Linked DNA regions of Homo sapiens: region 1 is linked to region 2. Evidence: promoter capture Hi-C in 16 types of primary human blood cells and fetal thymus (Javierre and others, 2016). All regions are on one chromosome and are shown on one strand. The core of a region is centred on a gene start or on the middle of the fragment in contact, and the rest is flanking DNA. Distances in the headings are between cores, read along the strand shown. Region 1 has its middle 21 kb from the start of DNMBP. Region 2 holds the start of DNMBP-AS1 (DNMBP antisense RNA 1).

The links. Contacts are between HindIII fragments. The CHiCAGO score rates a contact against its expected background, and 5 or more counts as called.
Region 1: a contact is called between a fragment that was not itself captured here and the fragment with the promoter of DNMBP-AS1 in region 2, in 2 of 17 cell types (naive B cells and total B cells). The highest score is 5.9, in naive B cells.

The regions. Positions count from the first base shown.
Region 1 is chr10:100,029,176-100,033,119 of GRCh38, reverse strand. No RefSeq gene overlaps it. Among named protein-coding and RNA genes, the nearest start is that of DNMBP, 21 kb to the right of the region's middle. The HindIII fragment of the contact is 1,340 bases long and covers 621-1,960 here.
Region 2 is chr10:99,925,001-99,928,493 of GRCh38, reverse strand. It overlaps DNMBP-AS1 (DNMBP antisense RNA 1), which reads right to left and starts at 1,289. Exons shown (of 5, transcript NR_024130.3): 1 at 1,195-1,289; 2 at 254-334. All of the region lies in intron 4 of DNMBP (dynamin binding protein), which reads left to right. The HindIII fragment of the contact is 7,506 bases long and covers 1-2,548 here.

The DNA of each region.
Region 1 (3,944 bases), core at 41-2,540, 100 kb before region 2:
GACCAACATGGTGAAACCCCATCTCTACTAAAAATACAAAAATTAGCCAGGTGTGGTGCCTCATGCCTGTAATCCCAGCTACTAGGGAGGCTGAGGCATGAGAATTGCTTGAACCCAGGAGGCAGAGGCTGCAGTGAGCCGAGATCGCACCACTGCACTCCAGCCTGGGCCATAGAACGAGACTGTGTCTCAAAGAAAAAAAAAAAAAGAAAAAGAAAAACCTACATTTTCTGTTATTTCAAAAAAAAAAAAAAAACCTTAGATTAAATTTAACAATTTTTAATTGAGCAAAGAATGATTTGTGAACCAGGTAGCACCCAAACCAGAATAAGTTCAGGGAGACTCTGTCGCTGCTGTGTGGTCTAAATTTTATGGACAGAAAAAGGAAAGTGATGTACATAAAGCAGAAGTGGACGTACAGAAGCAGCTGGATTGTATATAGTTTGATATTTGCCTTATTTGAACACAGTTTAAACAGTTGCCCACCTTTGATTGGTCAAAACTCAATGATTGGTATAACAGTAAGGTTACAGCCCATTTACACATTTTGGTTACAGTTCACTATGTACAAAAAAACCTTTAGGCTGAACTTAAAATATGTAAGAAGGCAGCTTTAAGCTTTCATATTGAATTCTGAAGGGAAACAAAAACAAAAGTGTTCTCTTAACCCCTAAGAGAAGTCCAATGTTCTGTTTCTGACTGATTATGGACCAACAAGGGTATTAAAATTTCTTGCCCATGTTGCCTCCTTATCTTCCATGTATCAAGAGATAAGTTTGTCCATGTACAAATAAAAGTATACCCTGTGAGTGCACACAAGATACCTCTTTTTCAGTTCTATTGTTCATAGAGGCATAAGCAAGGAAAAAACTGAGAGATAACAGTCTCATGATACCAGAGGAGTCTTGATCTGTGATCCTGGGAAATAGCTGTCTACATCTAAGATGCTGTCTGCTTATAGGGAGAAACTTCCCTGGGTAGATTTCTTTCTTTCTTTTCTTTTCTTTCTTTCTTTCTTTTTTTTTTTTGAAACAGAGTCTTATTTGCTCTGTCGCTCAGGCTGGTGTGCAGTGACACAATCCCAGCTCACTGCAGCCTCGAACTCCTGGGCTGCAGCAATCTTCCCATCTGAGCCTCCCGAGTAGCTGGGACTACAGGTGCGTACCATTGTGCCTGGCTAATTTTTGTATTTTTTGTAGAGATAGGGTTTCACCATGTTGACCAGAGTGGTCTTGAACTCCTGAGATCAAGGTATTAGCCTGCCTCAGCCTCCCAAAGTTCTGGGATTACAGGAGCGTGCCACTATGCCTGGCTACTTTTTTAAAGTTTTTTTTTTTGAAACGGAGTCTCGCTCTGTCGCCCAGGCTGGAGTGCCGTGGCGCAATCTCAGCCCACTGCAAGCTCCACCTCCCGGGTTCACGCCATACTCCTGCCTCAGCCTCCTGAGTAGCTGGGACTATAGGCGCCCGCCACCACGCCCAGCCAATTTTTTGTATTTTTAGTAGAGACGGGGTTTCACGGTGTTAGCCAGGATGGTCTCGATTTCCTGACCTCGTGATCCACCTGCCTCGGCCTCCCAAAGTGCTGGGATTATAGGCGTGAGCCACCGCGTCCGGCCTTTTAAAGTTTTTGTAGAGACAGAGTCCCACTATGTTGCTCAGGCTGGTCTTGAACTCCTGGGCTCAAGCAGTCCTCCCACCTCAGCCTCCCAAAGTGCTGGGATTATAGGCATGAGCCAGCATGCCCAGCCAGATTTACATTAAGGTCCCCAAAGGGGGATAGTTCTAAGAATCTGGAGGGACCCTTCTGAGTTGTGAGATTAGGAACCTAAAGTTTAAGGTTTAGAAGTTTTGCTGCAATGTGGGTGACAAGGGCAGTCTTTCTCTAATGTTCTCAGAAGAACCCATCTTTTAGTCCTAGGTTGTGAAGAGTTTGATCAGTGAGTAGACCATGAAAAGCTTTCTTAACCTGATGAAAACACACTTTTGGCATAATGCATTAAAGTTTTTTTTTGTTTGTTTGTGGTTTTTTTGTTTGTTTTCCAGATGAAGTCTTGCTCTGTCACCCAGGCTGGAGTGCAGTGGCACGATATCAGCTCACCACAACCTCCACCTCCCAGGTTCAAGCGATTCTCCTGCCTCAGCCTCCTGAGTAGCTGGGATTACAGGTGCTTGCCACCATGCCTGGCTAATTTGTGTATTTTTAGTAGAGATGGGGTTTCACCATGCTGGCCAGGCTGGTCTCAAACTCCTGACCTCAGGTGATCCGCCCGCCCTGGCCTCCCAAAGTGCTGGGATTACAGGCGTGAGCCACTGCGCCCGGCCATAATGCATTAAAGTGTTAAAGCATTTAGCCATTTTAGAGTTTAGGAGCAGAAGATACATGGGGTTCTATGATTAAGAGCATAGGCTTTTCAGTGACTATTTCATGAGGATTCAATTTATGTTTTCCACTAGAGATGGATCTGATTGTCATCAGTCTGCAATAACTTTGACCAAGGCAATCTTTTTTTTTTTTTTTTTTTTTTTTTTTGAGACGGAGTTTTGCTCTTGTTGCCCAGGCTGGAGTGCAATGGCACGATCTCGGCTCACTGCAACCTCCACCTCCTGGGTTCAAGCAATTCTCCTGCCTCAGCCTCCCAAGTAGCTGAGACTACAGGCACCTGCCACCAATCCCAGCTAAGTTTTTGTATTTTTAGTAGAGACAGGGTTTCACCAGGTTGGCCAGGCTGGTCTCAATCTCCTGACCTCGTGATCTGCCTGCCTCGGCCTCCTAAAGTGCTGGGATTACAGGCATGAACGACCACACCCGGCCTTACCAAGGAAATCTTAATCTTATATGTGTATCTATTTTTTGAGACAGCTTCTCACTCTGTCACTCAGGCTGGAGTGCAGTGGTGCTATCTCAGCTCACTGCAGCCTCAACCTCCTGGGCTCAGGTAATCCTCCCATCTCAGCCTCCCAAGTAGCTGGGACTAGAGACATGCACCATCACACATGCCCAGCTAATATATTTTTGTATGTTTTTTATAGAGTCAGAGTCTCTATGTTGCCCAGGCTTGTCTTCAACTCCTAGGCTCAAGCAATTTGCCCATCTCCCAAAGTGCTGGCTTTCTAAAGTGCTGGGATTATAGATGTGAGCCACTGTGCCCAGCCAATTTTTTTTTTTTTTTTTTTTTGAGACAGAATCTCACTTTTTGTCACCCAGGCTGGAGTGCAGTAGTGTTATCTCGGCTTACTGCAAGCTCTGCCTCCCGGGTTCAATGATTCTCCTGCCTCAGACTCCTGAGTAGCTGGGATTACAGGTGTGCACCACCATGCCTGGCTAATTTTTTTTTTCTTTTTTTTTTTGAGATGGAGTCTTGCTCTGTCACCTAGGCTGGAGTGCAATGGCATGATCTCGGCTCACTGCAACCTCCACCTCCTGGGTTCAAGCGATTCTCCTGCCTCAGCCTCCTGAGTAGCTGGGACTACAGGTGCATACTACCATGCCCGGCTAATTGTTTTGTATTTTTAGTAGAGACACGGTTTCACCATGTGGCCAGGCTGGTCTTGAACTCCTGACCTCTGGTGATCTTCCTGCCTTGACTCCCAAAGTGCTGGGATTACAGGCATGTGCCACTGCACCTGACCTTTTTTTTGATACAGAGCCTTGCTCTGTCATTCAAGCTGGAGCACAATGACATGATCTCAGCTCACTGCAACCTCTGCCTCCCAGGTTCAAGCAATTCTCCCTCAGCTACCTGAATAGCTGGGATTACAGCCACATGCCACCAGGCCCAGCTAATTTTTTGTATTTTTAGTAGAGACAGAGTTTCTCCATGTTGCCCAGGCTGTTCTTGAACTCCTGAGCTCAAGCATGAGCCATCATGCCCTGCCTGGCCAAGTATTTTAAATACTGAAAAGAATTTTGGGCTGGGTGGAATGGTTCACGCCTATAATCCC
Region 2 (3,493 bases), core at 40-2,539:
TGCTGTATGTTGTCTTCATGCCAAACGGCCTTTCTGGTTCTGGCCAATTTTGGGGTCCAGGCTGTGACCAGAGGATAAAGGTTAGTCAGAGAATGTGAATGATCTGAAAAATCCATCTCATGCCCTCCCCTTAAGTAGAAAGTTTCTCGTCTAGGTCTCCTTCAGAATGGGCTGGCTGGTTAGATTTGTACTAGGGGCCACCACAGACTGAAAAGATAAGCCTGCTATGGTCCTGGGATGGCCGGTGGTTTACCTGGTGGTCTTCCAACATGGGCTTGACTTAACTTGAATTTCTGGGGCACCATTTTGGACCTAACAGGCTCTTAACCTGCACCTATAAAGACAAAAATGAAACCAAACCCAGCTTTAGTTGGGAGGCTGAGGTTTTTAGCAGCTAGTCATTTTTTCCTAGGTGCATTTTCTCTCTGAAATGATAGGGACTGGATAACTTCTAAATTCCTTCCAGCTAAAAAAGAAAAAAGTCTGATTCTGTGATTCTTTATATTGGTTTTTGTATTGTTCCTCTTCCCTTCCCCCCGCATCTGTTCCTTTGGTGAACTTTGTTTCCTATGTTTAGTTCCTTATTGTATTAAGCCTCCCAACTGTAATCAAAGTGTGTTTATTCTGTTTGACTTAACAGGAGTGAAACCCTTCTCTCTGCAGTGTTGTAATGTGCCCTCTGATCTCCCTGAAACCAGCTCGGTTCCACCCAATATCATTTCCATTTCTACAACTCTCTTTATCTTTGAGGACTTAACTTTTGAAAGTATATTCATATTTAGTTCACCCCTTTTTGTACCCCTAATATCCTTCTTGACCTATAACAAATTCTGTCTTTACTAGAAATCTTTCAGCATTCTAACGTTCTTTGTTAGCTCTCTCACGCCATTGCCCTTCCTGAATATTACAAGGGAACACTGTGTAATTACACAAAGGAACAAGCATCAGAGTTGGTCTGCCCTGAGTTCAAATCTCAGCTCCACCATTTACTAAATGGCCTTAACTTGACAAAAATTACTTAACCTCTTGGAGCTTCGGATTCTCAATTTGTAAAGTGAAGATAATACCTCTCTCATAATGAGATAGAAAAATAAAACAGTCACATATCCGGAACATAGTAGGTGCTCATAAATGGCCATTTCTTTGTGTTTTATCTGCCCACCTCCCTTCCCCTTTATAAGTTGCGCCACCCACCTGTCACTCCATGGTTTCGTCTCTGAGTTCCAGATTGATAGTCCCTGCTCCCTGTTGGACATCTACCCTAGACCGTAAACACTTCAAGTTTGATTGTCTAAGTGGAATGTCCTGTCCCTTCCTCTTCTCCCGTCTTCCCCTTGCCACCCCTCCTCCATCTGAGACAGAGCTCTGTTCAGTGGCTGCTCTCCAGCCTCTCCCCCAGGCAGGAAGCCAAGTTTTCCCCCAGGCTTTCCTTTCTCACCGGCCTGATCAGTCATTCTCCTGAGGCCTCCATCTGAGGTTTTTTTAGGGCAGGTCTGTTAGGGGTTTGCTCTTAGTCCTAGGGTGTGGACCTCTAGTTCTGAGAGGTGGGCCTTATTCCTAAGGTGTGGCCCTTCGGAGGTTTCAACAGAAAACTGGAAGTGTTTATTGAACCTCCTAACTTGGAGGGACTCAAATTTCAAACTGTGTCTTCCCAGAGCCAGACAGTTGGTGAAGATCTATCTGCTGGGCTCTTCTGGCCTCCAGCTTTCCACGGGGTTCCTTGGAGTCTCATCACCTGCATGCACAGTTGAAGGATTGAGAGGCATTTCTGCACAGATTTTGGGGCTCTCCTCTCTGTGGCTTACTGTTTTCCAGGATTTCCCCCTTAATAGCTAATGTCTTCAGAGCCCCCAGACTGGAACCTTTGGCTGCTCAGCCCAGTAAGATTGCCCCATGTGGGCTTTCTTCTTTTGCTTTATTTCCCGGCGTCCTAAAAGACTAGGGAGTGCCCTGAGGGGAGGACTGGAGACAGGTGCATCTTACCTAGTTTGCTTCCCTTGTTTTGAGTCATATCCCCTCCAAATTCTGCCTGCTTTTGATTGCTTTTCAGTGCCTGCATATAGTTATTTTTTAAAATATCTGTCAGAAGGCTGAGGTGGGAGGATCACTTGAGCCTGGCAGGTCGAGGCTATAGTGAGCTATGATGATGCCACTATACTGCAGCCTGGGTGACAGAGTGAGACCACATCTCTAGAAAAATAAAAGTAAATAAAAGTTAAAAAAATAAATCTTGTAAAGTGTTTTTGGTAGTTATAAGTAGGGAGATTAGTACAATGTGAGCTACTCTACCATTACTAGACCAAGTGTGGGCACTAGGGTTTTGCACTTGCTAATAACATACATGGTTATGATGAGAAGGGGACCTGGTGTTTCAAATTCCACGTTACCTGTTTTGCATGTAAATAATATTAGGATATCTAAATGAAGAGCTCTTACAGAGAAAACTATGAAACTAGAGAGGGCTCTAAACAAAACTAGAGAGGGCTAAAGGTTCAGGGTTGGAAGGCTACAAAATAGGAGCCTCTTATGTTATTACTGGAAGGAAGCTTATATAGCCACAATCCCATGTTTTTGTAAATAATGGGTAGCCACTCATGACTGGGTCTTGAAGTCTGTTTGGGGGTTGCAATCAGCAGTTCTGAAAAATAAAAGTAAATAGAAAAAACTTTCATACTACATTCTATGTAGTAAAAGTAAGCATGTAATACTTTGTGTATGTGTATGTGTATAGACATAAATGTATTATGTAAATGTGAGTTACAGCCTAAAGTGTGGGTCAGGCCAGGCACAGTGGCTCACGCCTGAAATACCAGCACTTTGGGAGGCCGAGGTGGGCAGATCACTTGAGGTCAGGAGTTTGAGACCAGCCTTGCCAACATGGTGAAACCCCCTGTGTACAAAAATACAAAAATTAGCTGGGCATGTTGGTGGGCGCCTGTAGTCCCAGCTACTCCGGAGGCTGAGGCGGGAGAATCGCTTGAACCCAGGAGGTGGAGGTTGCAGTGAGCTGAGATTGTGCCACTGCACTCCAGCCTGGGCGACAGAGTGAAACTGTGTCTCAAAAAAATAAAATAAAAAATAAAGTGTGGGTCACAGTAAAAAATGTTTGAAAAACACTTAAATACAACCCATTTATTTTATAAATGAAGAGATAGAGCTCAGAGAAATTGAAATGTGTTTCCAAGGTAACTGGGTCAAGGATTAGGGCAGGAATAGAATCTGGCTCTCTTGACACCTAGAATGCTTTTCCAGCATTACCACATTTGAAGGCAGAAGCACAGCCGTAGATTGAGTCTGCAAAGATGAATTTAGAATATCAGAAAAGTGTTAGGTATTTCTCTGCAGAGTGCACAGAAAAAAAAAGTGTTAGGAAAGTCAGAGGGAGGCTGCCAACAGAGGTTGCAACTATATTATAGACAGCAGAGGTGCAAAGGTGCAAGAGAGGATATGGACTCGGGAAAGACCTTTGCATTTGGTAGGTTGGTGGAGGGTA